Regions from separate parts of the Homo sapiens genome. Here regions 1, 3 and 4 are each linked to region 2. Evidence: promoter capture Hi-C in human tissues and cell types (Jung and others, 2019). All regions are on one chromosome and are shown on one strand. Each heading gives the region's core, a stretch centred on a gene start or on the middle of the fragment in contact. The rest is flanking DNA. Distances are from core to core; before and after follow the strand shown.

Region 1 (6,984 bases), core at 2,120-4,619, 900 kb after region 2:
TGTCACCCAGGCTGGAATGTGATGGTGTGATCTCGGCTCACTGCAAGCTCCGCCTCCTGGCCTCACGCCGTTCTCCTGCCTTAGCCTCCCGAATAGTTGGAATTACAGGCGCCCGCCACCATGCCCGGCTAATTTTTTGTATTTTTAGTAGAGACGGGGTTTTACCATGTTGGCCAGGATGGTTTCAATCTCCTGACCTCGTGATCTGCCTGCCTCGGCCTCCCAAAGTGTTGGGATTACAGGCATGAGCCACCGCGCCTGGCCGAGACCCATATTCTTTAATATGAAAAACACTGTTTTTCTAACTGTCACCAATCAAGTCCAGGGAAATCATACTCATGGCCTTTGGACAGGATCTTTAGATCCTAAATTGTGACTACACAGTGTACTCACACTTTAACCCAAAATCAGACTTTGAAACCAGGCTTGCAAGATTTCTTACTTGCAAATTACAAATTAACTTTAGCCTGCCAGCAATTTCAGTCTGTTCTAAAACAAATGGACATTGGACTATAAATTACCCTGATGAAAGAGTCCTATGTCCACTCACACCACAAAAACCGCAGCCTTTAGCAAGTCGGAATTAGTATGTAGCATACAGGAAACCATGGGGCATTTCAAGTTGTGTCCCTACTATCACAGGCCCTAATGGCAGCATATAAACTAAAGCGCAGTTTATCTAAGGAAGCCTTTTTTTGTTGTTTTTTTTTTTGAGGCGGAGTCTCACTCTGTCGCCCAGGGTGGAGCGCAGTGGCACGATCTCGGCTCACTGCAAGCTCCGCCTCCCGAGTTCACGCCATTCTCCTGCCTCAACCTCCCGGGTAGCTGAAACTACAGGCGCCCGCCACCACGTCCGGCTAATTTTTTTGTATTTTTAGTAGAGACGGGGTTTCACTGTGTTAGCCAGGATGGTCTCCATCTCCTGACCTCGTGATCCGCCCCTCTCGGCCTCCCAAAGTGCTGGGATTACAGGCGTGAGCCACTGCGCCCGGCCCTAAGGAAGTCTATTTTTAAAGAAAGGACTACTCACTAAAGTCCGACTGTTAATTTCATAGCATATTGTTTGTCAGAGAGGAACTAGGTAAGATAGATAATGACTTAGCACCATTCGTGACTTAAAGGATGAAAAAGCCAAGCTCCTGGCCTTCTAATGGTAAAGTAACGCAGTCATACAGTTAGTGCAAAGCAGTTGGTTGCTTTTGCCTCTTCTTTCTTTGTTTAATCTTGATTTTTGTCTTGGATCATTCTTTCCACTTAAATCTGGTTTTAAAATGCCACAGTCATGCTCCCAGCCTTATTACTACTGAAAATTCTTAATGTCTACAACAAAGAATAACCCAATAGTTTAGTTGACTTATGTAAACATTTAGAATTATCCACATACTTGTTATGTCTTCCATTTTCTTTTTAATTTTCCATGCAGAGATGATGATTCAGTAAAAAACAAGTCTCTCAGTTGGGTGGGCATAGTAGCTCATGTCTATAATCCCAGTGCTTTGGGAGGCCGAGGCAAGAGAATTGCTTGAGCTCAGGAATTCAAGACCAGCCTGGACAACATAGGAAAACCCTGTCTCTACAAAAAAATAAACAAAATTAAAAATTAAAAAATTAGCTGAGGCCAGGTGTGGTGGCTCACGCCTATAATCCTACCTTTGGGAGGCTGAGACGGGTGGATCACTTGAGGTCAGGAGTTTGAGACAAGCCTGGGCAACATGATGAAACCCCGTCTCTACTAAAAATACCCAAAAAATTAGCCAGGTGCGGTAGTGGACGCCTGTAATCCCAGCTACTCGGGAGGCTGAGGCTAAAGAATTGCTTCAACCTGGGAAGTGGAGGCTGCAGTAAGCCAAGATCATGCCACTGCACTCCAGCCTGGGCGACAGAGCAAGACTGTCTCAAAAAAAAAAAAAATTAGCTAAGTTTGGTGGTGTGCAACTGCGGTACCAGCTACTAGGGAGGCTGAGGCAGGGGGGATCACTTGAACCCAGGAGTATGAAGCTGCAGTGACCTATAATCACACCACTCCACTCCGGCCTGGGTGACAGAGCAAGACCTTGCCTCTAAAAAAATTTTTTTAAACAGGATATTTCAGAGGAATTTCTAACAATTGTGTTGAGTTTACTGTTTTTTGGGTATAAGCAAACTTCAGTTTCTATTCCTATCAGTTTTGCCATGATTTTGCAGCTACTTACCTGCATTCAAACTCTCCATATCGTGAACCTCCCCTGCCTTTTTTTTTTTTTTTTTTTTTTTTTTTTTGAGACAGAGTCTCGCTCTGTCACCCAGGCTGGAGTGCAATGGCTTACTGCAACCTCTGCCTCCTGGGTTAAAGCAATTCTCCCATCTCAGCCTCCCGAGTAGCTGGGACTACAGGCGTGTGCCACCATGGCCGGTTAATTGTTGTATTTTTAGTAGAGATGGGGTTTCACCACGTTGGCTAGACTGCTCTCGAACTCCTGACCTCAAATGATCTGCCCGTCTCGGCCTCCCAAGAACTTCGCCTGCCTTTCTAACCTTATTTTCTTCTGTTAAGGAGAGATAAAGACTTTGGGAGCAAAGATGAGGTTCGGAGAAAGGTTTACTGTCAAGCAAGGAATCTGATCTGACCCAGAGAACTTCAGTTCTGGGGATGAGGCCCTAAGAATCCGGTCTCCGTCAGGAAAGCAGTCTGTGGGCTCTGGAGCGACCTGGGATCTGGAGTGTAAGTGTATCTCTATGGTTTGTCAAGAGGCGGTCTTCTCTGTGAGTGTGAAGTGCTTATTTCAGTGTAATGGCACCTCCGTGGTTTCCACTTATTCCCGATTATGGTACCCTCACAATCATTTTAGAAAGACTCAAGTCTGCATTGCCTCCCACCTCTTGGATGACATCGCTACTGTCATCATTATCATAATCACTAATATTATCATTGTAAGGTTTTGGAGACAGGGGTCATGCCTTATATTTCTTGCATTCCCCCATGGATGTGTAGAATACATTTTCTCTCTGGTCTTAGATGTTTTAATAATAAAAAGAAGGGCCGGGTGTGGTGAGTCACACCTGTAATCTCAGCACTTTGGGAGGCCAAGACGGGCAGATTGCCTGAGCTCAGGAGTTCGAGACCAGCCTGGGCAACATGACGAAAACCTGTCTCTACCAAAAAATACAAAAATTAGCCAGGCATGGTGGCGAATGCCTATAGTTTCAGCTGCTCAGGAGGCTGAGGCAGAAGAATCGCTTGAATCCAGGAGGCAGAGGTTGCAGTCAGCCGAGACTGGGCCACTGCACTCCAGCCTGGGCGACAGAGTGAGACTCCATCTCAAAAAAGAAAGAAAGAAAGAAAGAAAATGGGGAGGGGGGGACATGGATTTAAAAACTAACTAGTGGGTACTGTGCTCACTACCTGGGTGACAGGATCAGCTGTACCCCAAACCTCAGCATGATGCAATATACTCACATCACAAACCTGCATACGTACCCACTGAATCTAAAATAAAAGTTGAAATTATTTAAAAAATAATAAATAAATTATAAAACTTCTAACAACAACAAAAACAAAATAGGCAGATTTTAAAAACACTGTTATCAGTGAAATACTAAGTTTGGAAGAGGTCTCCTGACCCAAGAAGGGAAACACGTTCATCCTCCTTCACCACAGGGCTTTTTTAGTGGGAAAACCTGAGGACCAAGGCCAAGGAAAGCTTACCTTTCTCAGTCAGGGACTCTGACTCTTCCTCTGATATGGCTACTGAATTATTGCGTGACTTTGGGCAGGTCCCTTCTCTAGGACTGTGTCTTGTCACCTGCAAAAGGAGGGGGTGGGCATAGCCTTTCCCACTGTAGCTGCTTTTGAGTCCTTGACCTCATCTACCTTCTTTTGGGTCCTTGACCTCATCTACCTTCTTTTGAGTCCTTGACCTCATCTACTTTCTTTTGGGTACTACACCCTAGCGGTTTTTTTTTTTTCTTTTCTTTTCTTTTTTTTGGGGGAGGGGGGAACGGAGTCTCACTCTGTTGCCCAGGCTGGAGTGCAGTGGCATGATTTCAGCTCACTGCAAGCTCTGCCTCCCAGGTTCACACCATTCTCCTGCCTCAGCCTCCCAAGTAACTGGGACTACAGGGTAACCCGCCACCACGCCCAGCTAATTTTTTGTATTTTTAGTAGAGATGGGGTTTCACCATGTTAGCCAGGATGGTCTCAATCTCCTGACCTTGTGATCCACCCACCCCGGCCTCCCAAAGTGCTGGGATTACAGGCGTGAGCCACCGCACCTGGCCCACCCTAGCGTTTTATTGCCTGCTAGTTTGACAATGTTCACAATGAATGGAATCTTAACTATTGTTAAGGGGGAGCTCCTTAGTATTTATTTATATTTTAGTTCAGGTTCAAAAGTAAGATTTCTCTTCACACAAACGTCTCACTTTTTTTTTTTTTGAGACAGAGTCTCGCTCTGTCGCCCAGGCTGGAGTGCAATGGTGTGATCTCAGCTCACTGCAAACTTCACCTCCTAGGTTCAAGAGATTCTCCTGCTTCGGCCTCCTGAAGATGGGACTACAGGCGTGCACTACCATGCCCAGCTAATTTTTCTATTTTTAGTAGAGACAGGGTTTCACCATGTTGGCCAGGATGGTCTCAATCTCTTGACCTTGTGATCCATCCGCCTCGGCCTCCCAAAGTGCTGGGATTACAGGCGTGAGCCACCGTGCCCAGTCACGTCTCACTTTTAAGAATCAGTAGAATACTCTAGATTTAAGGTAGTCTGTATTCAGAGATCACTGATTAAAACAGAAGGGAGTGGAGCAGAGGGAAGAAAGAAAAGTGGAAAAATACTCTAATAAACATACAAGCCGCTTTTATGGATGGAAAATAGTAAAAAGCTGGCCTGTGGCATGCTCTAATTGCAGCCCACATGACCCTGCTTGTGCCTGGAGCAAAGTGGGGCCCTGTGAAAGGTTTCCTTACAAAGCAGCACAGGCTGGCTGGTTCATGAACTCACACACTGCGCTGTTGTTACAGCCAGGCTTTCATGCACACCAAAGCTGATTTCTAAAAGGGCGTTTGTGCAGTCTGTGTGCAAAGTAAATTTCCATCACTTTGGCTTTTCTTTTGCTGCTTTCAGAAGAGCTGGCTTATAAAAAGCCTTATTCCATAGTATAACATGTCATTTTTTCTACTTGCTTGAGTCAGTAATTAAATTGGTTTCATAATAACAGATATGAATTTAGCTTTTCAACTTGAAAGTAGGATCAGTGAAGGCTGGAATGTGGCTTGAAAAGAAACCAGTAAGTTCTTTCCAACCCAAAGTCAACTCTCCCTTGTTCAGCATCCAAAATCACTAAAAAACAAGCACTCAAGTAAACCAAATAAATATTGTACAAAGATATTTGATGACAAGAAACAGTGAAATTAAGTGCATTATGTTTTCAGCATTAATTATCTTTGTTGATCCACGTCAGCTCTATACAGGGTCTAACAGTAACAAGTTCACTCATTCCTTCATCCATCCATTCATTTGTAGGAGTTTCACAAATGGATAAGCCAGAAGGAAGGCATTCCTGGCAGATACGAGAGCATATGCAAGCTGCGCACCTAACACAGTAGCCACTAGCCGTGGCTGTTTAAAATTAAATGGAAGGCCAGGTGTGGTGGCTTATGCCTGTAATTCCAGCATTTTGAGTAGCTGAGGCAGGAGGATCACTTGAGGCCGGGAGTTGGAGACCAGCCTGAACAACATAGTGAGATCTGTCTCTATAAAAAAATTAATGTAAATTAAATTAAAAATAATTCTGATTAATGTTATACTTATGTGTGCTTTTCAAAATTAAATCAAATTAAAACTTCAGGCCGAGAATGGTGGCTCACACCTGTAATCCCAGCACTTTGGGAGGCCAAGGCAGGTGGATCACCTGAGGTCAGGAGTTTGAGATCAGCCTGGCCAACAGAGTGAAACCTCATCTCTATCAAAAATATAAAAATTAGCCAGGCGTGGTGGTGGATGCCTGTAATCCCAGCTACTCAGGAGGCTGAGGCAGGAGAATCGCTTTAACCCAGGAGGCGTAGGCTGCAGTGAGCCAAGATCACACCACTGCACTCCAGCCTGGGCAACAGAGTGAGACTCTGTCTAAATAATAATAATAATAATAATAATAATAATAATAATAATAATAATTCATTTCTTCAGTCACACTAGCCACATCCAGGTGCTCAACTGCCACACAGGAATAGTGGCTACTGTGTTGGAGAATGTGACATAGAACATTTCCTTTATTGCAGACAGTTCTGTTGGACAGTGCTGCAAGGATGGAGAGACTATTAAGATCACCTGACTACACCATTTAAAAAATTTTTTGAATGAACTATCTTTGTTTGTAAGCCCCAAAACATGGTCTGAAGACTCATTAGTGACCTGATCATACAGCTGACCTCTGAACAACATGAGTTTGAACTGCGTGCGGGTCACTTATAGGCAAGTGTTCAACTGCACGGGGCAGGAGCAGTTGGTGCCCAATCTGCTAATTGTTCAAAGGTAGAGTGTAGTTTTTAAAGACAAGTGAGGTAATTTCTTTTAAATCTCTAGGCTACTACAATACAGAATGCTGGGAAATGAATTAATGTTATGCTTACGTGTGCTTTTCAAAATTCCCCTTGTGACTAATGGGATGTCACTCTGCAAAAACATTGTTAGTTTCCCATTGATTCCACTGGTTTGAGTGTGTTTAATGCCGAGGAAAGTGAGAGTTCTTTCGGAAGATGGTAGGTTTTTGTCTTTTTGAGGTGGTTCATTTACTTTGAGAATCATCATTTTGTATTTTTAAAACCAAGTCTTATATGCAAAATTATTGAACTGTGAGAAGAAAAGGCAAATAAAATCTTTCTTTTTCATTGCAAATGTGTCTTTATCCAGTAATGACTTTGAAACGGGCATCTAAATACTTTCTCTGAAACCCCAGTGAAGAAAGTCAAGGGGTCATCCAGGGTGAAGATCTTAATTGGCCTGTTTCCTT
Region 2 (7,621 bases), core at 3,032-5,531:
GGGGATGAGGGTTTGAGGCTGACTTTGTCTTTTGTTTTCTATCTACCATTGCTATGTTTTGGAGTACAGTGGGTACATCAAAGCTGGCCTGAAGTCCTAAGTAGCTTCCTTGTTTTTTTTTGGAGAGAGTCTTGCTCTGTTGCCCAGGTTGGAGTGCAATGGCGTGATCCCAGCTCACTGCAACTTCCACCTCCCAGGCTCAAGCAATTCTCCTGCCTCAGCCTACGGAGCAGCTGGGATTACAGGCGCCCCGCCACCATGCCCAGCTAATTTTTTTTTTTTTTTTTTGTATTTTTAGTAGAGATGGGGTTTTACCATGTTGGACAGGCTGGTCTCAAATTCCTGACCTGGTGATCTGCCCACTGTGGCCTCCCAAAGTGCTGGGCCCACAGGCGTGAGCCATCGCACCCAGCCCTAAGTAGCTTTCTTATTACCTTCTCCACTGCCACAAATCAAGGTCAGGCTAGCATCATCTCTTGCTCTACGACTGCAACGGCCTCCCAACTGGTTTCCTTGCCTCTAGACTTTCCTCCCTCCAATCTGTTCTTCTTACCACAGCCAGAGTGATTGTTATAAAATGTAATTCTGCTCACGTCACTACACTGCCTAAAGTCTTTAAATGATTCCCTGTTGTCAAAACCAGTAGCAAAGATGGAGTGAAATCACAAGCCCAACATGGAAATGGAAGGAAGGGGTTTAAGATACTGGCTTCTATTGCTCACAAGCAAAGAACATTAATTCATGTCTGTAACCATTTACGACAGAAAGAGTCCAAAATAATAAAAATATTGCCTCCTCAAAAATGTGTCTGTCCTCATTGTACAAGGACATAGATCAGAAATATTCTCTAGATCCCACATAAATCACCTTAGAATATGTGGCAGTCATTTAGAAATCAGAAACTGGTCGGGCACGGTGGCTCACAAAAAATACAAAAAATTAGCTGGGCGTGGTTGTGTGTGCCTGTAATCCCAGCTACTGGGGAGGCTGAGGCAGGAGAATCGCTTGAACCAGGGAGTCGGAGGTTGCAGGGAGCTGAGATTGCACCACTGCACTCCAGCCTGGCAACACAGCAAGACTCTGTCTCAAAAAAAAAAAAAAGAAAAAGAAAAAAAAGAAATCACAAGCTAATGTAATCTGGTTGGCAACGCCAGAAGTTAGGAGGAGTAACTGGATAACAATAGAAAACTTTAAATATTTGTTCAACAATTTCTTACTAAATATTTCCTACTGCAAGTCACTGTGGATGTGCAAGAAATACTTTCTACCTTCTAGAACCTTACAAGGTAGTAGGCAAGATCACATATTTCAATGAGTATCAAAACTATTGGCTGAGCGAGGTGGCTTAGGCCTGTAATCCCAGCACTTTGGAAGGCCGAGGCAGGCAAATCACTTGACTCCAAAAGTTTGAGACCAGCCTGGCCAACATGGGGAAACCCCATCTCTAGCAAAAATACAAAATGCAGGCCTCACGTGGTGGTGCACGCCTGTAATCCCAGCTACTCGGGAGGCTGAGGCATGAGAATCACTTGAAGCTGGGAGGTGGAGGTTGCAGTGAGCCAAGATCACGTGACCGCACTCCAACCTGGGTGACAGAGCAAGACTCTACTGAAAAAAAAAAAAAAAAGAATGTGGCCTTATTTGGAAGTGGGCCTGTTGTAGATGTAATTAGTTAAGATGAGGCCATACTAGAGTAGGGTAGGCCCTTAACCCAATATAAGGGGAGAGACAGGAAAGGAGAATGCCACCTGAGGATAGCGGTAGATATTGGGGTGATGCCACTGCCACTGCAGGTCAAGGGATGCCATGGACTAATGGTCACCACCAAAGGCTAGGAAGAAGCAAAGAAGAATTCTCCCCTACAAGTTTCAGAGGGCACATGGCTGTGTTAGGTCATTCTTGCACTGATATAAAGGAATACCTGAGACTGGGTAATTTATAAAGAAAAGTGGATTAATTGGCCCACAGCTCTCCAGGCTGTACAGAAAGTATGGGGTCAGCATATGCTTCTGGTGAGGCCTCAAGAAGCTTCCAATCATCAGTTGGAGACAACATTGGAGACAACAGCAACAGGAAGGTCCCTCTCACCTTCCTCTCGCTCTTCTCCCCTGAAGCAGGCCATAGCACTAGCAAAAGCGTCTCAGGCCTTCCCCTGAAGGCAGACCTAAGACTGTTATTCAAGAGGTGCCCTCCCTCTACCCAGACAAAGGAACATCCTTATCTCTGAAGACACAGGACCACAGAGATAGACTTCTGCCTTCTCGGCAGAAGGCAAAGGGGAGCCAGCATGTCACATGGCAAGAGAGGGGGCAAGAGAGAGAGTGGGGGAAGGATCAGGCTCTTTTAAATAACCAGATCTCATGTGAACTACTAGAGAAAGAACCCCTCATCCAAGGGGATGGCACTAAACCATTCATGAGGGATCCACCCTAATGATCCAATACCTCCCACCAGGTCCCACCTCCAACACTGGGATCACATTTCAACATGGGATTTGGAGGGGACAAACATCCAAACCATATCCAATATCCTTGCCAACACTTTGATTTGGGACACCTACCCTCCTAAACTGTGAGACAACCAATTTCTATTATTCCCCAGTTTTGTGGTACTTTGTTATAGTCACCCTAGGAAACGAATGTGACAGTTTTATAGTTAGGTTATAAACAAAATGTCGTGAAAGATCATTTCTAGCAGCCCTGGAGCTTGTAAAGGACATGGCTTTGTGCTGAGCTCTAGCAGCATGGTTTTGGTACGTAGAGATGACATAGAGGAGAAACGGCTTTATGTTCTTCCATGTCCATCCGAATTCTATGTTGAGGTCTAACCCTCCTAAGCAGCCTCTCTGGAAAACTAGTTGAACTTGAACCTAAACCTACTGTCAACTAGGCCACTAACTAATATGACTTTTAAGGCACAAAATCAGGGAGAACAGAATCTTTTATACATGCTTTATTACTCAAGCAGCAGTGTGCAGTGATTAAATACTTACTCGCTTTTACTACATTTCTCTGACACAGCAAAGGGTGACGTCTTCTTCATGGAGACTTTAGTGAGCAGTAGCTAATTTAAAGCTCAGTGTAGGCCGGTCGTGGTGGCTCACACCTGTAATCTCAGCACTTCTTTGGGAGGTGGAGGCGGAGAGGGGTTGGGATTCCTTGAGCCTTGGAGTTCAGGGCCAGCATGGCAACAGGGCGAAACCTAGTTTTTACAGAAAATACAAACATCAGCTGGGCATGGTGGCGGGCCTGTAGTCCCTGCTACTCTGCAGGCTGAAGCAGGAGGAGTGCTTTAGCAGGGAGGTCGAGGCTTAAATGAGCCCAGGTCGTGCCACTGCACTCCAGCTTGGGCGACAGAGCGAGAAGACCCTGTTTCAAAAAACAAACACAAAAATTCATTCTAACCAAAACTGAATGCTAGTAGCAGGAACTGGTATGAAGATTGCGGTCTGGAATCCCTTCTAATGCGTCTGACCTTGCATTGTGAAGTCTTCACAGTGATGCTTCTGGGTTCTATATGATTATCGTCATTGCTTAGCAACCTCTAGTTGTAAATAAATTCTTTAAATTTCCTTAGTCGTTTGCGGGGCAAGGAGAGGGTCATTTACATGCCCTTTCCTTCTCGCTACTCAATCTTAAATTTGGGTTACGAATCAAACTGATGGACCCTACATGGCTTCTACCCGAAATTACAGGTATCTACCGTTCCATCTTCAAGAAAGGGAGGGGTTCCGCCAAGATGGACGAACATAAAAATCACAGGAGGAGCCTTCTAACAATGTGCATTCTTCGCACACTGAGTGGGGAATGGCCTTGTCATGTTTGAAACAGTGCCCCAACTACTCAATGTCCCAGGAACCCCAGTGGAGCGAGTTCTGTACACAGAGAGGGCCAAGATCCACAAATCAGCTAAGGAATCATTTCCATAGTCTCCCTCCCCTATTGAGTCTCGATCCACAAAAGCTATCCCCTGTCCCTCTCATCCATCAAGGGCGTGTTTTTCGCCTCTCCTTCCCCGGCCTCCCGCGTCCGCCCAGCCTGTCCGCATCCAGCCCCGCCACGCCCCATGGGCGGTCCCGAGCTGCGGCCCCGCCCCCTCACCGCCTCCCCGGCCGCGGAAACCCCGCCCCAACGACGCGGAGACCGGGGGCGGCCCGCGGCCCGCGGCGGGCGGGCTGGCGGGGACGGACGCGGGGGGAGGGGGGCGACGGGATGTGGGGTGGGGGCGGGGCCTGGCTGGGCGCCGGGACGGGAGGAGTCCCGGCGGCGCCTCGGACTTTTGCTCCCACAAGTCCTGCCTCGGAGGCGGGGGAGCTGGACCAGCAGCCGCCTGGAGCGTCCGAGTCACCGTCGCCGGGGCTCCCGCGCTCCCCAGAACGGTGGGACGCGGGGCTCGGCAGCCGCCAGCGGAACATGGCGCCCTGGACGCTGTGGCGCTGCTGCCAGCGCGTCGTGGGCTGGGTGCCGGTGCTCTTCATCACCTTCGTGGTCGTCTGGTCCTACTACGCGTACGTGGTGGAGCTCTGCGTGTGTGAGTACCGTCCCCGGGGACTGCGGCGGGGCGCGGGCCGCGGCTAGGGCGCGAGATAGGCCTCTGCGCCCCACACCCGCCGCCTTTCTGGAGCCAGCGCCGGACGCCGGGCGTCCGGCCCCGAACGCGCTCGGAAGCGCCGAGGTTGCTGCACCCGCCGCTTTGTTCAATCCTGCGGCGCGGCCTTGGGGCGACCTGGGGCTCCTGAAGCCTTGCGGCGGCTTCCCGGGTGCAGGTCTGGCCCAGGGAGGCCCCAAGAGCTTCCTGGTTCCCGCCGACACCGGGGGTCTGCATCCTTCTGGGAAGGAACGTGCAGAACGGGAGTAGTCGAGCTTCTTAGAAGGTTTAGGTTGTGTTTGTGGCTTTTTTGGCTTTTGTTCATTTTTTTTAAAAAACCAAATCTGTTCCTTCTGGATTGTTTTTGTTCAAACTGCGCGAGAAGAAACGCCTGTTACCTGTAGAGCCGGCTGTGGCGGGTTGGGGGAAGGGAGGTGTGTCTTTTGGTGGCCTCGGGCTGGAGGCGGGTCAGACCTGGAGGACGAGTAAGCTCCCACTTTTGATTTTTGGTGGTACTCGACTCATTGTAAAATTCGTTTATTTCTACTCTGAATCCAGCCGGCTTTTGCAGAAGGTTAAGACAGAAAGAATGGGTGGGAGGAGACATAACCTGATTATTTTTTTCTTGGCTGATTATTAAGGAGGCTTATATTTCTTATACTCATATTTTGGCGTGTTAATTTTCGTTACTTCCATTTTCCTGATAAGTTCTTAGCACAAAATTCTCATCTGATTCCCTGGAAAAAAGGAGTAGCATTGCAGTATACTTCAAGGATTTAACCTACTGGCTTGAATTGGTTGCCTTTAAGATTGAAGGAAATTGGTTGTCATTAATCAAAAACACTGTTTAGGGGTGACTGCTACATTTGTGATATTGGGCAATTTCTCCAACATTGTTTTGTCTTAAGTAAATTGTTCTTAGGCTTTGAGTATGTGGGTATTTTACACTTAAACTGGCCTCAACTAGGGTGTTCTGTATACATCTGCTGCCTATATCAATTTTTTATGAAAACCTAGGACCAAATGGTAAGTGGTGTTTGTAAACGTTATTGTTATTCCAGAATGTTCTACTCTTAGTCCTTAGACTGAATCTACCATTTTATGAAGGACTGTTAAGTGTTCTTTGAATAACGAACCACATCAGCTAGAAACTAATGTTATGAATGAGAAGAATCTGTACCACCCACTCTTGAAAGTGGCAGAATCAAGACTTCAATTATGTTTGGATTTGTACAGCTTTCAACCAAGTATTTGGTTAAAACCCTAGTTCTATACATGGAAGAGAATGCTTTGGCTCAGAAAATTTATAAGTTTTGAAATTAAAACATCCAGTTTTAAAATTACTTTGTACCTATAGAACGTTTAATTTTGGGACGACTATCCCTGCAGGTAGGCCCAGAATAAATTAGTTGTGGAATACATTTCCAAATAATATTAATCTTTTCAATATCATTGTTTAGTCTCATGCTTTTGGATACCAGAATGTTTACTAAAAATGATGTTTGAGTCAATTAAAATTACTAGATTTTAATATTTCTGGGAGCTACTTCCAGAAAGTGGTAGTGATCATAGGATTCTCATCAACTTATGATGATACCTCCTTTATCTTCTTATTTACTCTGAAGTGGGCATTTATTCTAAAAGTTATGTCATTCCTATTCTGTCAGAAGATTATTCCTACCGTATTTTAATTCCCGTAGTGGTTTTGAAGTAAAGCTGAAGGAACACTAAAAATGTGCATTTATGTTGAGATTCCACAGCTTAACCTGTAGATGGTTTTTGTCAAAAATATTAAGAAATGAGATCAAACAGTGCTGTGAAAAGTCTTAAATTGCTTCTGATTTCTTTCACCACTTCAAATAAAGAAGGAGAAATGAACATGAATTGAGAAGTGCCATGTGCTAGTGGGCATAGAGGGGACATTTCATTCACCCTCTCCTTTAATTCTTTCAGTATGTCACAGCATAGGTATCTCTACAGGTGGAGGACGTGAGACTGAGCGAATAGGTCCTTTTGGTTAGGTCACACAATTGATTATTGGAATGTGACCCACATCTTTCCGTTCTTTCATATAACTTCAGTAAGCTATGAGGGTCAATGGAACTGTAATTGTTTGGTCCATAATGGTGTGGGGGGATAAAGGGGTTGGCATATTTTTGGAGATCACTTAGTTAGGCTTGAGGCCCATTCTGTAGAGATTATACCCTACAATTTCATTAAGTTAAAACATTCTATAACTATGGCCTGATGCTTGGCAGAATCTTAAAATATTTGGTGGTGAAAGGTCTTATGTAGAGGCTGTATTAACTTCTGAGTTATCTCATTTTAACTAGAGAGAATTTGGGAGGTCTGCAGTGTCACTGGAGTATAAAATAGTTGAGCATAAAAGTGCATTTACTCATATTAAAACTATCCTTTAAACTACTTGTATGTATTTGTTTTCATAAGTACTGACCCTCCCACTGAAATATGTATAGATATATTACTTTATAGGAGGACTTAAATGGAGGGAAGTGTGAGTTTTACTTAAAAGTGCTGTTTTAATACTTTTATAGGATATTCTTTTTATTTATATATGTATTTTTTGAGCCAGAGTTTCACTCTTGTTGCCCAGGCTGGAGTGCAATGATGCGATCTTGGCTCACTGCAACCTCTGCCTCCTGGGTTCAAGTGACTCTCCTGCCTCAGCCTCCCAAGTAGCTGGGATTACAGGTGCCCGCCACCATGCCCAGCTAATTTTTTTTGTATTTTTAGTAGAGACGGGGGTTTCACCTTGTTGGTCAGGCTGGTCTCAAACTCCTGACCTCAGGCAATCCACCCACCTTGGCCTCCCAAAGTGCTGGGATTACAGGCATGAGGCATTGTGCCCGGCCTATAGGATATTCTTAGATTCTGGTATTCTTTATCAAACTAGGAGGAGAAGATCATAATTATATCTTTACATGTATGTATTAATTCATTTAATCTTAATAATGATCCCCATAAGGTTAAGTAATTTGTCCACGGTTATAGAGCCAGTAAGTAGCATGGTAAG
Region 3 (7,471 bases), core at 3,877-6,376, 640 kb after region 2:
AAAAAAAAGTTTCCAGAGCATTATTACAGCCTTTAATTTTCCCTGTGAATAATAATTTTTCTGTAAAAATAACGATTTAGACTTTACTCAAAATATAGTATTTGAATTTCTATCTACTTTTTTCAGACGATAGCTCTGGGTGATTATCATTAAGATTTCTCATTGAGTGATGTGAATGTTGCATAGTCGAAGTATTTTAGCTGGGCAATTGATTACCAATGGAAGGGGCATAACCACTGTTTTTTGTTTGTTTGTTTGTTTTGAGACAGAGCCTCTCCCTGCCACCCAGGCTGGAGTGCAATGGTGTGATCTCGGCTCACTGCAACCTCTGCGGGAGAGTGTTTTCAAGCGACTCTCCCGCCTCAGCCTCCCAAATAGCTGGGATTACAGGTGCCTGCCACCATGCCCAGCTAATTTTTGTATTTTTAGTAGAGATGGGTTTCACCATGTTGGCCAGGCTGGTCTCGAACTCCTGACCTCAGGTGATCCGCCTGCCTTGGCCTCCCAAAATGTGGAGATTACAGGCGTGAGCCACCGTGACTGGCCGAGTTTTCTCATTTCTTCAAAGCCTCAGTTACTGTGGCAGTATCAATGAATCGTATTCATAAAAACCTACAAATATATGATGGTTACTTTGTTTATGGTAAAACAGTATTCTGTTTGAAGCATGTTTGAAATTGAATGCCTGAACACCATATAAATTGCTTTTTAGTCTGTGGGAATTTTAAATAAGCATCTATAAAGTTTTTTGTCAATAGATTATTTCTTTGTCTTGATATTTAGATACTGTGACCTGTGGGAGTTTTTTTTCTTTAATATTATATGTGTTTACTCTTTTTGTTCTTTTGCTTTTCCAGTGAATATATTTCTTCTGGAAAAATGCTATTTTTCCAAGTAGACTATATGAAACTCACATTTTGTATATGTGGTGTTAATTGTTGCAAGATATTGGGGGAAATGATGGGATAAACTTGCAGAAATTGATTCTTTTTACATGAATTTTGGCATATGCTTTGCAGTAAGTGTATTTCCTTCTGTTGCCACCATTAAATTCTCTGGTTCTCAAAGTTTCTGTATGCCTACAGCATGACACATAATTACAATGAAAGCATTACCTTACATTCCTGTAACATTCTTTTTTTCCCCAGGCACTTAATGCCTTCTATTCCTTAGCTTCATGGATGAATTATGTAGCATATGTGAAGAGGCTTAAACTGTTACCATTACAAATTCTTTCTAGATGGCTCCTGTTATATTTAGGATATACTTATACTTTAGACAAAGTAAGAATGTTATTGTTGTTGACCTTGACACCAAATAACTGGGCAGACATTATATAGCTATGTTTGAATCCTCGCAAAATGTGCTGTTGAAGCCAACAGAGTCCTGGCGGGAGACTCTTCTGGACAGCAGAGTTATGGAGCTTTTCTTCACAGTAAGTTTTAGTCTTCATCTCTGGTAGCAAGAGCCATAGAAAAGAGGAAATGCCTTGGCGAGTTTCTTAAGTAAAACAGAACAGATTGCTTTTCTCCCCTAAAGTCTTGTCTTCTCATCAGTATGGCTGCTTAAACAGAAATTATTTTAAAAGGTTCTTGCTAATTTATAAAAATGTCACATGGTTATGAAGGGCTTAATATCCTGCAGCAGAAGTTCTCAAACTTTTAATTTCAGGACCCCTCTATACTCTTAAAAATTTATTGAGAACTCCAAAGAGCTTTTCTTTATATAGGTTATATTTGTCCTGTTAAAAATTCAAACAAAACTTTACAAAATAATGTGCTAAAAAGTAACAGTAAGAAACGATTACATATTAACATAAGTAACATTTTAATTAACTATATTTTTGAAAACGAAGCAAGTTTAATGAGAAGAATAGCATTGTTTTGCATTTTTGTAAATCTATAATATCAGACTTAATAGAAGACAGTCAGATTATCTTACCTGCTTCTGCCTTCAGTTAGTTGCAGTATCGCACATCGTGTGGCCTCGGGGAAATTCCACTTTTTACCTGTGTGACAGTGAGAATGGGAAACGCAGATACTGTCTTCATATTATTATGCAAATAGTTTTTTTCCTCACAGGCAACCTGACAGGCTTTTAAAAAGCTTCAGGGATCCCTGGGCCATAGTTTGAGAACTGCTATTCTAGAGTGTAGGTTTTATACTTATTATATTTATGAGTCATTGGTTAAGTTGGTATTATGGAATAGCAGTTTATCTCATGTATAACTTTAGACAGTCCTCTTTATTATTGGCTAAATATCAAGATGTAAGCAGTATGTTCCCACATTGGCCAGTGTGTATCCCCAATAAAACGGTCAAAAGCTGGAAAAACAATTCATATGTGTGTGTTTATGTGTTGGATGCTAATTTGCAGTTATAGGGGGAATATACAAGTTAATTAGATATAATGACGTGGACAGAAGCCCAAGTAAAAATCAATTAAAAGTAAAAAAGCTATTTTGCTTAATCCCAATTGTTAATTTTAGTTTCTTTTCATTTGTTGTAAAAATATAGATGAGCCCTTCAACTGCCTTTTTCTGATTGAACCATTTAAAATAAAGTAGTTATGTGGTATGTATTTTAAAATATCTAGAACAAGGTTATCTATCCATGGGTATATATAAAGGATATTTTCTATAGAAATATTCAGACTGAGCATTAAATCACCTTGTGGTTTCTTTTTAAAATCAGAGAAATGATGGCTAAAACCACTATCAAGATCAAAGAGATAATTGTAACTAAATTTTAAAATTCCGTTGCCTGCCTCATCTGACAGGAATTGTTTTGATACGAATCCAAGTCCAAGTCTTTGTATTATGCACTTGACTGAAAGTAGATTCCACTCCAGCAGTTTTTGAAAAGGTGAAAAACTTGCTGGCAGTACTGGAAACAACTCTACCAGATCTGAACAGCTGTCTAGACAAACCAGACAGCTGCTCCTGTCAGCTGTGAACAACCACACGCAAATAACTTGAATTTGAAAGTTAACCCTTTTTTGCTTTATTTGAACAATTTTTGTGTTTGTAGCTATTTTCACTTAAGCAGTTTATGAACAAGTTTGTTACTTGTTTTAAAAATGACAATGGCTAATCTTTTTATTTAACTTTGGTTAAATTTAGTTTTAGTTATATGAATTTATTGCCTACTTTAAAGCACTTTTCCACTGGATATCACTTGTGCTAGATTTGGATAAGCATCAGTATACTGTTGCATAAGAGCAAGACTTTAAATATGTTAATCATAAGACTTTAAATATGTTGGAATACTTTGGGTTGCATTCTGCCCTATAGAAGTTTACAAACTTCTTGATTTTTTTTCCTTCTATAAGGTCTTGGAAAAAAAACCCACTTTCATTGTGTTTTCTTCCTACCTTTTTGACCAGAGTCTTCTTGATCTCGCTTATGGTCTCTTCCTTCTTTGCTCATCACATAAATATTGGCATTCCTATCTTAGTTCTCAACTTTGCTGACTCTGTACACTTTCCTGTGGCTCTCTCTTTGACACGTAGGACTTCAGGCACCGGTTCCCAGATGACTCCTACATCTATATTCAGCACAGCCTGCTCCAGAGTTTCAGAGCCTTATAATCCCAGTGCTTACTGGATGTTTTAATTTGGATGGCCAACAGACATCTCAGATTTAACATGTTCCAGTAGAATTCGTCATCTTCCTTACTTGCTTCTCCTTCCTTGTCTTCCTTTTCTTGATGCATATCCTTGCCATTCATCTCACTGGGCGTCCTGCTGGGCTTTGCTTTCCCTTATCCCTCTGTCCCTTTTCCATATTCAGGTGGTGATTCAGCTTTCCGTTTTATGATACAGTTTATATTGAAATACATGTTCAGATATGGAGGAACTCTTTTGTAATGATGACATTGGAAGAAAGGCAAGAATTTATATTGTATAAAAATTAAGCATTTATTATTAGTTTTATGTGGTTTATATTTCAGGTAACATAAATTAAGCTTGAACAGCACACACCGTCTCGAAAGACAGTTATTTATTTATTTTAACTTTATTTTTAGTTATTTCATTAGCTATTTCATTGAGGGTATTCTTTCTTCTGATTGCTCGCTTCGAGACCATAATGAACATTCAAGATTGTGAGATGTATTCTTATTGTCCCAGATTACATTCTATCTGTTGACAGAATATATCCCTGGATATCATGCTTAAATGCTGATTAGATTCTAAGGCATCGTGACAAAAATTTAATTACAGATTTCGGATAAAGAACTTATAAGAGTGAGTTGTGTTCAGAAGTTTATGAACTAGACAGTGTGCATATATGAATTTGTCTATTGTACTTGGAATTTACTATATAAAACTTAAAATACATTGGAATATAGTTTGAAAAATATTTGTATTTTAGACCAAGGATTTGCAGACATTTTTTGTATAGGGCCAGATAGTAAACACTTTAGGCTTTGCAGGTCATATGTTCATATTCAACACTGCCATTGTAGTACAGAAGCAGCCATAGATGATACATAAATAAGCACGGCGGTGTTCCAGTAAAGCTTATTGATGGTCATTAAAATGTGAATGTTGGCCGGGCGTGGTGGCTCATGCCTGTAATCCCAGCACTTTGGGAGGCCAAGGCCGGTGGATCACCTGAGGTCAGGAGTTTGAGACCAGCCTGGCCAACATGGCGAAACCCCGTCTCTACTAAAAATACAAAAATTAGCCAGGCGCCGTGGCACGTGCCTGTAATCCCAGCTACTCAGGAGACTGAGGCAGGAGAATTGCTTGAACCCGGGAGGCGGAGGTTGCTATGAGCTGAGATTGCACCATTGCACTCCAGCCTGGGCAACAAGAGTGAAACTCTGTTTCGGGGGAAAAAAAAAGAATTCTGTGTAATTTCCACAGGTCACAAAATATTATTTTTATTGGTTTCCCCCCAACCATACAAAAATGGAAAAAAGAAAAAAACACAACCATTCTTAGCTCACAGCCATACAAAAACAGGCGGGGGCCAAATTTGGCTTATGGGCTGTGGTTTGTTCTAGTCCAAAGAGTATAGCATATTTTAAGCATGTCAGTAAATCAACTAACTTTGTAATGTTTAGAGATTACTTAGTGTTTTAAATTTCATTACTAGAACCTTGAGAAGTTCAGAGATTAAGGATTAAGGGACTCAGTGAACAAGGATTTATTAAGTGTTCATTGTGGCCCAGCATACCAGTGAGTACTTAAATGTTCTGACCTGAAGTAATTTAGAAACAATTTGCCTAGTCAAAGTGAATATAGCCTAAAACTATGAGTTTGATGTTACACAACATTTACAAAATAGAGAGAGAACTTTGTGTGGGAAAGAAAAGGGCTAGTTAAGTACTTCGGCAAGTACAAAATGGTACATCCAACAGTAAGTGTTGGATGGATTAAGATTAATAATGATCATATTCCTTCACTAAATTTTCCTTGGCTCTAATATGTCAGATTACAGAAATGAAACCTTTAACATCTGAGAATATTAATACTATAAAACTAGGGAGCAGTATTTCAAGAGCATTCCCTTCATACAAAACACTCTACCAGGTGTTTCATGTCCGTATTGTATCACTGAAGTAAAATATAGGTTAGCTTTAAATGGATTTAAGTATAATTTACATTTGGTATTCAAAATCTTTTAGCATTTATTAATAGCAATGATGTAGGTTAAACTGAGATTCAAACAAATTGTAAGCAAACTGAGAATTAATAAAAGAACGTGCTCATTATATTTTGGTTGAATGAATGCATGAATGTCTAGGGATTCAATGGTATATTGCTTTTCTAAGTGCACAACTGTTTACTTCCACTAAAGCAGCATCTATATACTCTTTATTGAACTTGTCTGCTAAGTTTAGCAAGAAGCTGTAGCTAGGCATAGTTAGCATAATACAGATGACTGTCATTGTTGCTGTTTTTAGAAGAAGCAGTATGTCTGACTGGCTGGCATCTGTTTCTCTCTTTGTCATAACATGCTGGAGACAGATCAATTTTCAAAATGTAGGTAGCCCTCAGTTAAAAATCAATTGATATGTTTAAAATAATGACCTGTAATGTAAAGTGGACTGAGGGACAATTTTCAATTTAGTTTAATTCAGGAATTAATTTTCTAGAAATAACCAGCTACAGTGAATTTTTGTCTTACCTCATTCGGCATGGTAGACACGTGACCCTTACAAAGGAAGAATTTATATTTATGGATTAGTAATTCTTTCTAACAGGTACATCGAAAAATCAGAGAAGATTCAGATATGGCACAAGATTCTCTGCAGTGCCTTGCCCAGTTAGCTTCTCTTCATGGACCCATCTTCCCAGATGAAGGATCACAAGTTGATTATCTAGCACACTTCATTGAGGGATTACTGAATACTATCAATGGGTAGGTATACTTGCCCTTTGCAGCTGAAAAAGGAGCTCTACGTTTTGTGTTTAACAGTAGAAGAAAAAAAGAAACTAGTTATTTTTTCCCCCTTATATTTTGAAGTAAAGTCATATGGGTAATTTGAAATTAATAAACAGAGACATACCTTTTAAAATGAATCAGTAACGATATTTGCTTGTTTGGAAATGAGTTATTATATTAATAATTTTTCTTTTACTGCCACTTAATAATACTCATTCCTTGGTTTTAGAATTGAAATAGAAGATTCTGAAGCTGTGGGGATCTCCAGCATTATCAGCAACCTGATAACCGTGTTCCCACGAAATGTTTTAACTGCCATTCCAAGTGAACTTTTCTCCTCCTTTGTTAACTGCCTCACACACCTCACTTGTTCTTTTGGGCGAAGTGCTGCATTGGAAGAAGTGGTGAGTGACTATTCTAAAGTAAATTGTGTCAGTTTTCACAAGGAAATTTGCGGTGCCTTTGGAACATTTCTCATGACAAGTAATTATTTTAAGTGAGTGCTGGCTATTGTTAAAGTGACTGTTTTGTTTAGATGTGCAAATTATTTGGGAAACATGACCTTTAAAAATTTGTGGATTAAAATAGCTTTAGTTGGTGATATTTACTGGTCTTAAGCATTTAATTTTGAGATAATTTAGTACCCAAATATAAGAGATGGAATGAAATGAGCTGTGGTTTGTTCAACACAATTTTTCATGTAAAAATTATGTCGAAGGCTCTTTCTAACAGCAAAAACATTGTTTACAGGGTGTTGCTGTGGTGTGGTGTAATTACGTGTAATTTTTTTTTTTTTTGAGAATTTTTTACGTTGGACTTATTTGGCAATTATGTAAACATAATTTGGTTCAAATCATTGAAACCTTGCTTATTTTGGTTAGACTGTGCTCTCTAATTTTTTGGATGATAATGCTTTAATAGTGTATCCTGGTAGAATTTAATTTACATTGAAATTAAGACCAATAACAATACTGAAGATGTTTTTTGGTACAAATTTCCAAATGTGTATTTTCCATATTTTATATTTAAATTTAGACGTCTACTAAAACCCCTTGAGGACACAGCTGCTTTTGTAAC
Region 4 (7,869 bases), core at 218-2,717, 520 kb after region 2:
TGTATTTTTAGTAGAGACGGAGTTTTGCCAGGTTGGCCAGGCTGGTCTCAAACTCCTGACCTCAGTTGATCCGCCTGCGTCGGCCTCCCACAACTGACTCTTTTCTTATGTTGAACAAAATAAAGTTTCCCTGAGTGCCCTGAGCAGCTAGGGCGCCATCAAGGAATGAAGCGTCCTGAATGGATCCTTCTAGAAAAGGCTGGGGGTGGGAGCCACCTGGTGGCCAAAGCTGTGCAGACCACAGCTGTGTAATGAGGCAAGTTGGTTTAAAAAAGGAACAGGCTGCAGAGCCGAAGTATTTGTCAAAGTAATAAAAACGTTTAAATGAGTCATTTGGTTTATAGCAACTCCTAGGAAACGCTTTTCCAAACAATTTAGTCTGTTGAGCGCACACAGTACTGGTTTCCGCTAGAGTCTTGTTCATGTAATTGAGAAATTCGCAACTTAGACTTGAGCAGCAGTTCTCAAAGTGTGGTCTGTGGACTTCAGGGACACACGAAGTCCCCCTTTTCAATTGTATACCTGGGGGGTGCTGGACTTCCCCATCTACTTCAAACAAAACATATGGTAACAGGTCAAATGTGGAAGCAGAAATAAAAACTCCACCATCTGCGACCGGATGCGATGGCTCACGCCTGTAATCTCAGCATTTTGGGAGGCCGAGGTGGGCAGATCACTCGAGGTCAGGAGTTCAAGAGCAGCCTGGCCAACATGGTGAAACCCCGTCTCGACGAAAAATACAAAAAATTAGCTGGGCATGGTGGCGCACGCCTATAAATCCCAGCTACTCGGAAGCCTGAGGCGCGAGAATCGCATGAACCCGGGAGGCAGAGGTCGCAGTGAGCTGAGATTGCACCACTGCACTCCAGTCTGGGCAACAGAGCGAGACAATGTCTCAAAAAAAAAAAAAAAGAGAATTCCACTATCTGATATTAAACCCGCTATTCAAGAGGTTTGCAAAATGTAAACCAATGCCACTGATGCCACTAACTGTTATTTTGGGAAATATAGTTATTTTGCATAAAACACATTATTTGTGTTAACATGTAATTGGTTTATAATGGCCACTTTTCCATCTATAAATATTCTTTATTTTTTTCCATTTTAATTTTTAATATGATAAATATTGATAGATAGATAGATATGGATATAGATATACCTCCTTTCTGTCCCCTCACTTCATATATATGAATTTGTCTGAAGTTCTCAATAATTTTTAAGAGTATAAAGGGATCCTAAGCTCAAAAAGTTCTAGAACCACTGGACTAGAGCAATGTGTCAGCTGAGCATTAAAAACAGTACAGAATTTGACATTCCCCTGGAGGGGTTACTGTGTGATGATTTGAATCAGGTACACTTGCAGATGTGTTTCCATCAACCTCTGTATTGAAGGCCCAGTTATCTCTACTTACCTTGTTGCTCGTGTAAACACCTCTTAAGTACCACTCCAAATCTTTGGACACCGTTGGACGCTTACTCCACCCTGCTGCCACTGCAGAAACCAGCTGTCTGTGGACACTGCCAGCTCCATGTGGCATCCCAAATGGCACCCACCTCACAGGACCCCTGGCCCCTATGCTTGAGAAACCCACAATAAGTCAGAGAAAAAAGTAAGTGCAGAGAAATTGAAGCTTGTGGGGCGAATCTTCAACCAATGAGCTTAGGAGCAAACAGATAACGTTTTTTTCCTCTCCTACCTGACACAGTGTGCTGAGATCCAGGCCCCTCCAGAAACAGTCCCAGAAGCCCAAACAATCAGTTGTCAGATGCCCAATGGTGACCAGCTCCTCAGCCCAAAACTCTAGCACTCCGTAAGTTAAGGCTATGCATAGTTTACCATTTCACCATATTCTCAGCATCTACAAACTATAAACAGCCTTCAAAGAACAGTAGTAGCATTTTCATAACATTTATTTTGTGTCTAATCCGACTCTATGTCATAAGAATTAAAGAAGTAGCTTCTAAAATCTCAGTCTCCTGAAAATGAAGCTTTAGAATTGTTTCCTAAAATAACATTATTTTATATTACCCATTACCATTATTAAAAATGGTAATACTCGACCAGGCATGGTGGCTCACACCTGTAATCCCAGTACTTTGGGAGGCCGAGGCCAGTGGATCCTGAGGTAAGGAGTTCAAGGCCGGCTTGGCCAAGATGGTGAAGCCCTGTCTCTACTAAAAATACAAAAAATTAGCCGGGCGTGGTGGCAGGTGCCTGTAATCCCAGCTACTCAGGAGGCTGAGGCAGAGAATTGCTTGAACCCAGGAGGCGGAAGTTGCGGTGAGCCAAGACTACCCCACTGCATTCCAGCCTGGGCGACAGAGCCAGACTCTGCCTCAAAAAAAAAAAGTAATACTCTGATTCTAGAAAGGTTACACTGAAATAGACACTCTCATGTTGTTGATAAAAATTGTTATAACTTTTCTGGAACAAAATTTTGTTTTGTTTTGTTTTTTTGTTTGGTTTTGTTTTTTGAGATGGAGTCTCCCTCTGTTGCCTAGGCTAGAGTGCAGTGGTGAGATCTCTGCTCACTGCAACCTCTGCCTCCTGGATTCAAGCAATTCTCCTGCCTCAGCCTCCCGAGTAGCTGGGATTACAGGTACGCACCACCATGCCCAGCTAATTTTTTGTATTTTTAATAGAGAGAGGGTTTCACCATGTTGGCCAGGCTGGTCTTGAACTCCTGACATCAAGTGATCCACCCACCTCGGCCTCCCAAAGTACTGGGATTACAGGTGCGAGCCACCGCACCTGGCTGGAACAAAATTTGGCAACAATTTCTACAGAAACAATTTAAAAATGGGACAAACAGTTATGCACAAAAGTATTTCCCTTAGCACATCTATACTATAGTATCTTTAAACGCAATTACACATTCAATACTATGATGACGGTTACAAATATTTTATGACTCTATGCCATACTGTCACATTTTATGTAATCAATAAAAATTCCATATTCAAAAAGTTTTTAATAAAAAGCAAAATTATCACTATATAATGTTAAGTAAAGGGTGAAGGATACAAACTGTACGATCTCAGTTTTTTGTAGCAAGAAAAAGAAAAAAATAAATATATCAAAAATTTTACATGTCTGAAAGGAAATACGGCAAAGTTTTAAAAAATGGTGACCTCTTGTAGGTGATACAATTGTGGGTGATTTTTTTCTTCCTGATTTTTTTTTTTTTTTGAGACTGAGTCTCAGTCTGTCGCTAGGTCAGATTGCAGTGGCGCGCGCCACCACGCCCAGCTAATTTTTTGTATTTTTAGTAGAGACTGGGTTTCACCATGTTGGCCAGGCTGGTCTCGATCTCTTGACCTTGTGATCTGCCCACCTCAGCCTCCGAAAGTGCGGGGATTACAGGCATGAGCCACGGTGCCCAGCCTTTTCTTCCTAATTTTAAACATCTTCTGTATATTTCCAAATTTTCTACAGTGTAAGTGTGATATTTTACAGCACGATTATTAGAAGGTAAAAATGGGTGAGGCTCTAGGATTTCGAAGGTCACTTTCAGCTCTAAAATTCCTTAATTCACACAGCTCTTATCACTATGGTTTGTTTGTTTTTTGACTTTCCACTGATAGTAACAGAAGAGTATATTACACATTTCCTAATAGCAATGTTATGCATGTCATTGCCTGAGATTCCTAAATCTTGTGCAAGATTTCAACATTATCTGTAGAACTTAAGTGCTAGATTGTGATCTTTTATGAAGTTTTTGAGTGTTGTCAACAGACTGAGTGTTCAGATGAAAATGCCGGGAGAGGACAATACTCGTAAATGTGCATTTCTACATTTAGATATAGCACATTAGTTAGTGCTTCATCATTCAAGAGACATTTAAATTTTACTACATTATAATAACATTCTTAAGAGTTTCCTTAAGACAAGGAGATAAACTCAGTTATTGCTAAGCAAGAATCTGCTGAAACAGTAAACAAACAGGTATAAACAAGTGCATTTGAGTGTGTGGCCACATGCCTGTCACTCCCAAATTCTTGTCCTTTGTTCCCAGCTGGGGAGAAGGTAAACAGAAATGGAGAATGAGGAGTCTCAGCTCCTGGCCTCCGGCCTGCTCAAGCGAAGGGGTAGGAGATCATCCCGCCACTTGCCAGGGATATTTTGGGGATATATCTGACACTGGGTCACATGCACTAGTTGGCCTGCAACAAATCTCAGTCTCCCAGCCAGTCGGCAGCAGATCAGGCACTCCTGTCTTTGAGCCACTGTGGAAGGAACTAGCCTGGGCAGCTCCTCAAAGGGGCTCTTGCTCACATCAAAGCTGGACAGTCAGCCCCTGGTGGGCTTCAGATTCAAAGACCCCTTCTGCCCCCCATCCTTGACTGTTGCCCCTCACAGTGGTCTCACTCTTTCCTTCTTAATCAAGTATGTGGGGCCCCTTTTGGGACAAGCATCCTGGATCAGGACCCAGGCTTTTGGTGACCCAATCCAACGATTCCTGACTCATCGCCTTCTGTCCCATAGGCTTGCATTCCTCCATGAGAAATCCCCTTTGCGTCTTCTTTCAGAACTAAACTTTAGATAACTCCTTAAAACCAGAACCCAAATCTTAGCACTATCACCCACTCCCCGCAAAGGGTTACTCTCTACCCCTGAGCAAGGATGGCTTGGTCGGGGGGCATGCCCCTTGCTTTATGGTGGATTGTTACTTTTCATGCAGGGAAAAAAATAAAACGAAACATTAGTGTTTTCATTTAAAAACAAGTTGAACAGTCGTCTCCTGTAAGAGAATCCTGGAGCCCCAGACACACCTAGAAACACAAGTCTGTGCAAAAATACAATGTGTAGATTTATGGAAATGCACATGATGTGAAAAGTCCCTAACGGATGTGTATAAAAATTCGACTTTTTTTTCTTTGAGTCTCACTCTGTCACCCAGGGTGGAGTGAGTGCAGTGGGGCAATCTCGACTCACTGCAGCCTCCGCCTTGTGGGTTCACACGATTCTCTTGTCTCAGCCTCCTGAGTAGCTGGGACTACAGGCGCACGCCACCATGCTTGGCTAATTTTTATATTTTTAGTAGAGACGGGGTTTCACCATGTTGGCCAGGCTGGTCTCAAACCCCTGACCTCAGGTAATCCACCCACCTCGGCCTCCCAAAGTGTTGGGATTTACAGGCATGAGCCACCACGCCCGGCCCAAGTCTTTTTATTCAACACCTCATTTTATTCTTATGCACTGAATGCCACATTGGTTTCTTTTTTCTCTCTCTCTCTCACTCAAAGCACTATTATTAAATCCATGATGCAGCTTACTTTCAACATTATCTTCAAATTTAGGAAATACCATTGTATCATAAGCAGTGGTAATTCCCGTCTGCCAGGTGTCTACCGGGTGAAGGGGTCTTGCTCTGTGCTGGGTGCTCAGAGCCATCCCTGCCCATCTTCGTGCTAATGCCTGGAGGCAGCCACATTAGCTCCACCTCCTGGCTTGGGAGCTGAGGCTCAGAGAGGACAACTAATCAGCCCAAGGTCCCAAGCTAATATGTGGCACACGGAGATCTCAAACCCAGCATGAGGTAGGTACTGTGACCCCTATTGCACAGATGAAAAACAGACATACCGAGATGACGGGAACTCACTCAGGGCACACAAATGATAAGTGGCAGAGAAAAGATTGGAATCAAAATCCTACAAAAATCCTACAAAATTGAGGTGAGGCACAGTGGCTCACACCTGTAATCCCAGCACTTTGGGAGGCCGAGGTGTGTGGATGATCACTTGAGCCCAGAAGTTTGAGACCAGCCCGGGCAACAAAGTGAGACCCCTGTCTTTACAAAAAAATTTAAAAATTAGCCAGATGTGGTGATGTGCCTCTGTAGTCCCAGCTACTTGGGAAGCCAAGGCAGGAGAATCTCTTGAGCCAGAGAGGTCAAGGCTACAGTGAGCTATGATCACACCACTGCACTCCAGCCTGGGTGACAGAGCGAGACTCCGTCTCAAAAAAATAAAAAAAGAAAAAAATAAATAAATAATTAAAAAAAAAAAAAAAAAAAAAGTCTGGGTGCGGTGGCTCACGCTTGTAATCCCAGCACTTTGGGAGGTGGAGGCGGGCAGATCACGAGGTCAGGAGATCGAGACCATGGTGAAACCCCATCTCTACTAAAAATATAAAAAATTAGCCGGGTGTGGTGGTGGGCGCCTGTAGTCCCAGCAACTCGGAGAGGCTGAGGCAGGAGAATGGCATGAACCTGGGAGGCGGAGCTTGCAGTGAGTCGAGATCACGCCACTGCACTCCAGCCTGGGCAACAGATCGAGACTCCGTCTCAAAAAAAAAAAAAAAAAGAAAATTTAGGACACTTTGAAAACACAGTGAACAGACACCTATAGTAATCATTTTCCCTGTCACTAAAACTCATAAAACAATGGCTTTGAATGGCTATATGATATTCCATTATGATGATATAGCCCAAATTAATTAACCATTTACTTGTTATTGGAAATTTAGGTTATTTCCTATTTTAAATAATTTAAAATGTAAATATACCTTGTAAATAACATCATATTGCATATCTTTATACATGATCTTTTTCTTTTCCTTGTATAAGCTTTATCATGAGTACATAATCTTTTTCTGCATCTTTAATTATATTCTTAAGAACATTTTTAATGCTCTTGTTATATATTTCCAAATTGATTTCCAGTGTATACTCCCAGGAGAGGGTTAATTTCATGGTTCCTCTTGTGAATGTTATCTTTATTTTATTCTTTAAATATTTCTTTTCTGTATTTTGAATAAATGTACAACAGAATGTTATGTGGATTTTCTTTTTTCCCATGTTCCAGAATTGCAGCTGAAACCAAAAGCCCTGGACAAAAAATGTGAAGTGTCTGGGAACCTTAGAGACCCCTCTGGGCTTTCCGAGAAAGGCAAGATCCGCAATCAGCTCTCCAGCCTTCTCACCTCCCCAGCCAACAGAAACTCTTCTGTCTCCTGGTTGGACTTGGGCTCAGCCTCAGCTGTTGATTAGGACAACTGTGTCCCCCAAGCAGGGGAAGAAACCTTGGAAGAGATGAAGAACAGGGAGTGAGTAAGAGCGTGTCAGTTGAGTGACCGTGAAGACAGTGGGAATGGAGGCAGCTTACCCATGTCGGGCAGATCCACTCCTCCCAGAACCCTCCCAAAAGCCCCTCCACATGCACCTATGGAAGTTCCAGTATTTGAGGGGTCGCCTCACATAGCCCATGTCAGTTAGCATTAGCCACAGAGGCAGGGACACTCACAAGAACCTTGCTGCCAGCTTTGCACAGGGAACTTACCATGAGGTGATGAAGTTTAAGCTCAGTGCCCTTCACCTGGATAATCTATGTTAATACTCAAAGGTGTCCAACATTTTTTTGAGACTAAGTCTTGCTCTGTCACCCAGGCTGGAGTGCAATGGTTGTGCGATCTCAGCTAACTGCAACCTCTGCCTCCCGGGCTCAAGCAATTCTCCTGCCTCAGCCTCCCAAGTAGCTGGGATTACAGGCACCCACCACCACGCCTGGGTAATTTTTTTTTTGTATTTTTAGTAGAAATAGGGTTTCACCATGTTGGCCAGGCTGGTTTCGAACTCCTAACCTCAAATGATCCTTCCGCCTCAGCCTCCCAAAATGCTGGGATTACAGGTGTGAGCCACCATGCCCGGCCTTTTTTTTTTTTTTTTTTTTTTTTTTTGAGACAAGGTATCACTCTGCTGCCCATGCTGTAGTGCAGTGATGCGATCATAGGTCAATGTGGCCTCCACCTCCTAGCCTCAAGTGATTCTCCTGCCTCGGCCTCCCAAAGTGCTGAAATTACAGGCATGAGCCACTGTACCTGGCTATTTTTTTCACTCTCTCTATTTTTTTTTAGACAAGAGTCTTGCT

The links. The method cuts DNA at HindIII sites, captures the fragments that hold promoters and counts their contacts. A contact is called where the count stands out against the background at its distance.
Region 1: a fragment that was not itself captured here is called in contact with the fragment with the promoter of ZDHHC20 in region 2 in 1 of the 25 tissues and cell types used here (dorsolateral prefrontal cortex).
Region 3: a contact is called between a fragment that was not itself captured here and the fragment with the promoter of ZDHHC20 in region 2, in 2 of the 25 tissues and cell types used here (aorta and dorsolateral prefrontal cortex).
Region 4: a contact is called between a fragment that was not itself captured here and the fragment with the promoter of ZDHHC20 in region 2, in 1 of the 25 tissues and cell types used here (hippocampus).

What each region holds. Positions count from the first base shown.
Region 1 is chr13:20,551,519-20,558,502 of GRCh38, reverse strand. LOC105370103 (a long non-coding RNA gene) reads left to right here. Exons shown (of 6, transcript XR_941725.3): 5 at 2,534-2,701; 6 at 6,254-6,869. Among named protein-coding and RNA genes, the nearest start is that of IFT88, 12 kb to the left of the region's middle. The HindIII fragment of the contact is 9,762 bases long and covers 1-6,984 here.
Region 2 is chr13:21,455,963-21,463,583 of GRCh38, reverse strand. ZDHHC20 (zDHHC palmitoyltransferase 20) reads left to right here and starts at 4,281. Exons shown (of 13, transcript NM_001330059.2): 1 at 4,281-4,530. The coding sequence starts at 4,413. It overlaps LOC124903131 (a long non-coding RNA gene), which reads right to left and starts at 4,037. Exons shown (of 2, transcript XR_007063713.1): 1 at 3,405-4,037; 2 at 2,938-3,201. RefSeq lists a cis regulatory region at 4,040, an enhancer at 3,956-4,125 and a silencer at 3,989-4,368. The HindIII fragment of the contact is 17,074 bases long and covers 1-7,621 here.
Region 3 is chr13:20,821,031-20,828,501 of GRCh38, reverse strand. It overlaps XPO4 (exportin 4), which reads left to right. Exons shown (of 23, transcript NM_022459.5): 7 at 1,323-1,435; 8 at 6,213-6,370; 9 at 6,624-6,798. It overlaps LOC124903129 (a long non-coding RNA gene), which reads right to left and starts at 3,558. Exons shown (of 2, transcript XR_007063711.1): 1 at 3,373-3,558; 2 at 1,648-2,008. The HindIII fragment of the contact is 4,182 bases long and covers 3,036-7,217 here.
Region 4 is chr13:20,936,083-20,943,951 of GRCh38, reverse strand. LINC00367 (long intergenic non-protein coding RNA 367) reads left to right here. Exons shown (of 6, transcript NR_104058.1): 3 at 1,352-1,610; 4 at 1,707-1,811; 5 at 4,017-4,089; 6 at 5,302-5,388. Among named protein-coding and RNA genes, the nearest start is that of LINC00367, 9.4 kb to the left of the region's middle. RefSeq lists enhancers at 1-458, 3,853-4,352. The HindIII fragment of the contact is 5,625 bases long and covers 1-4,279 here.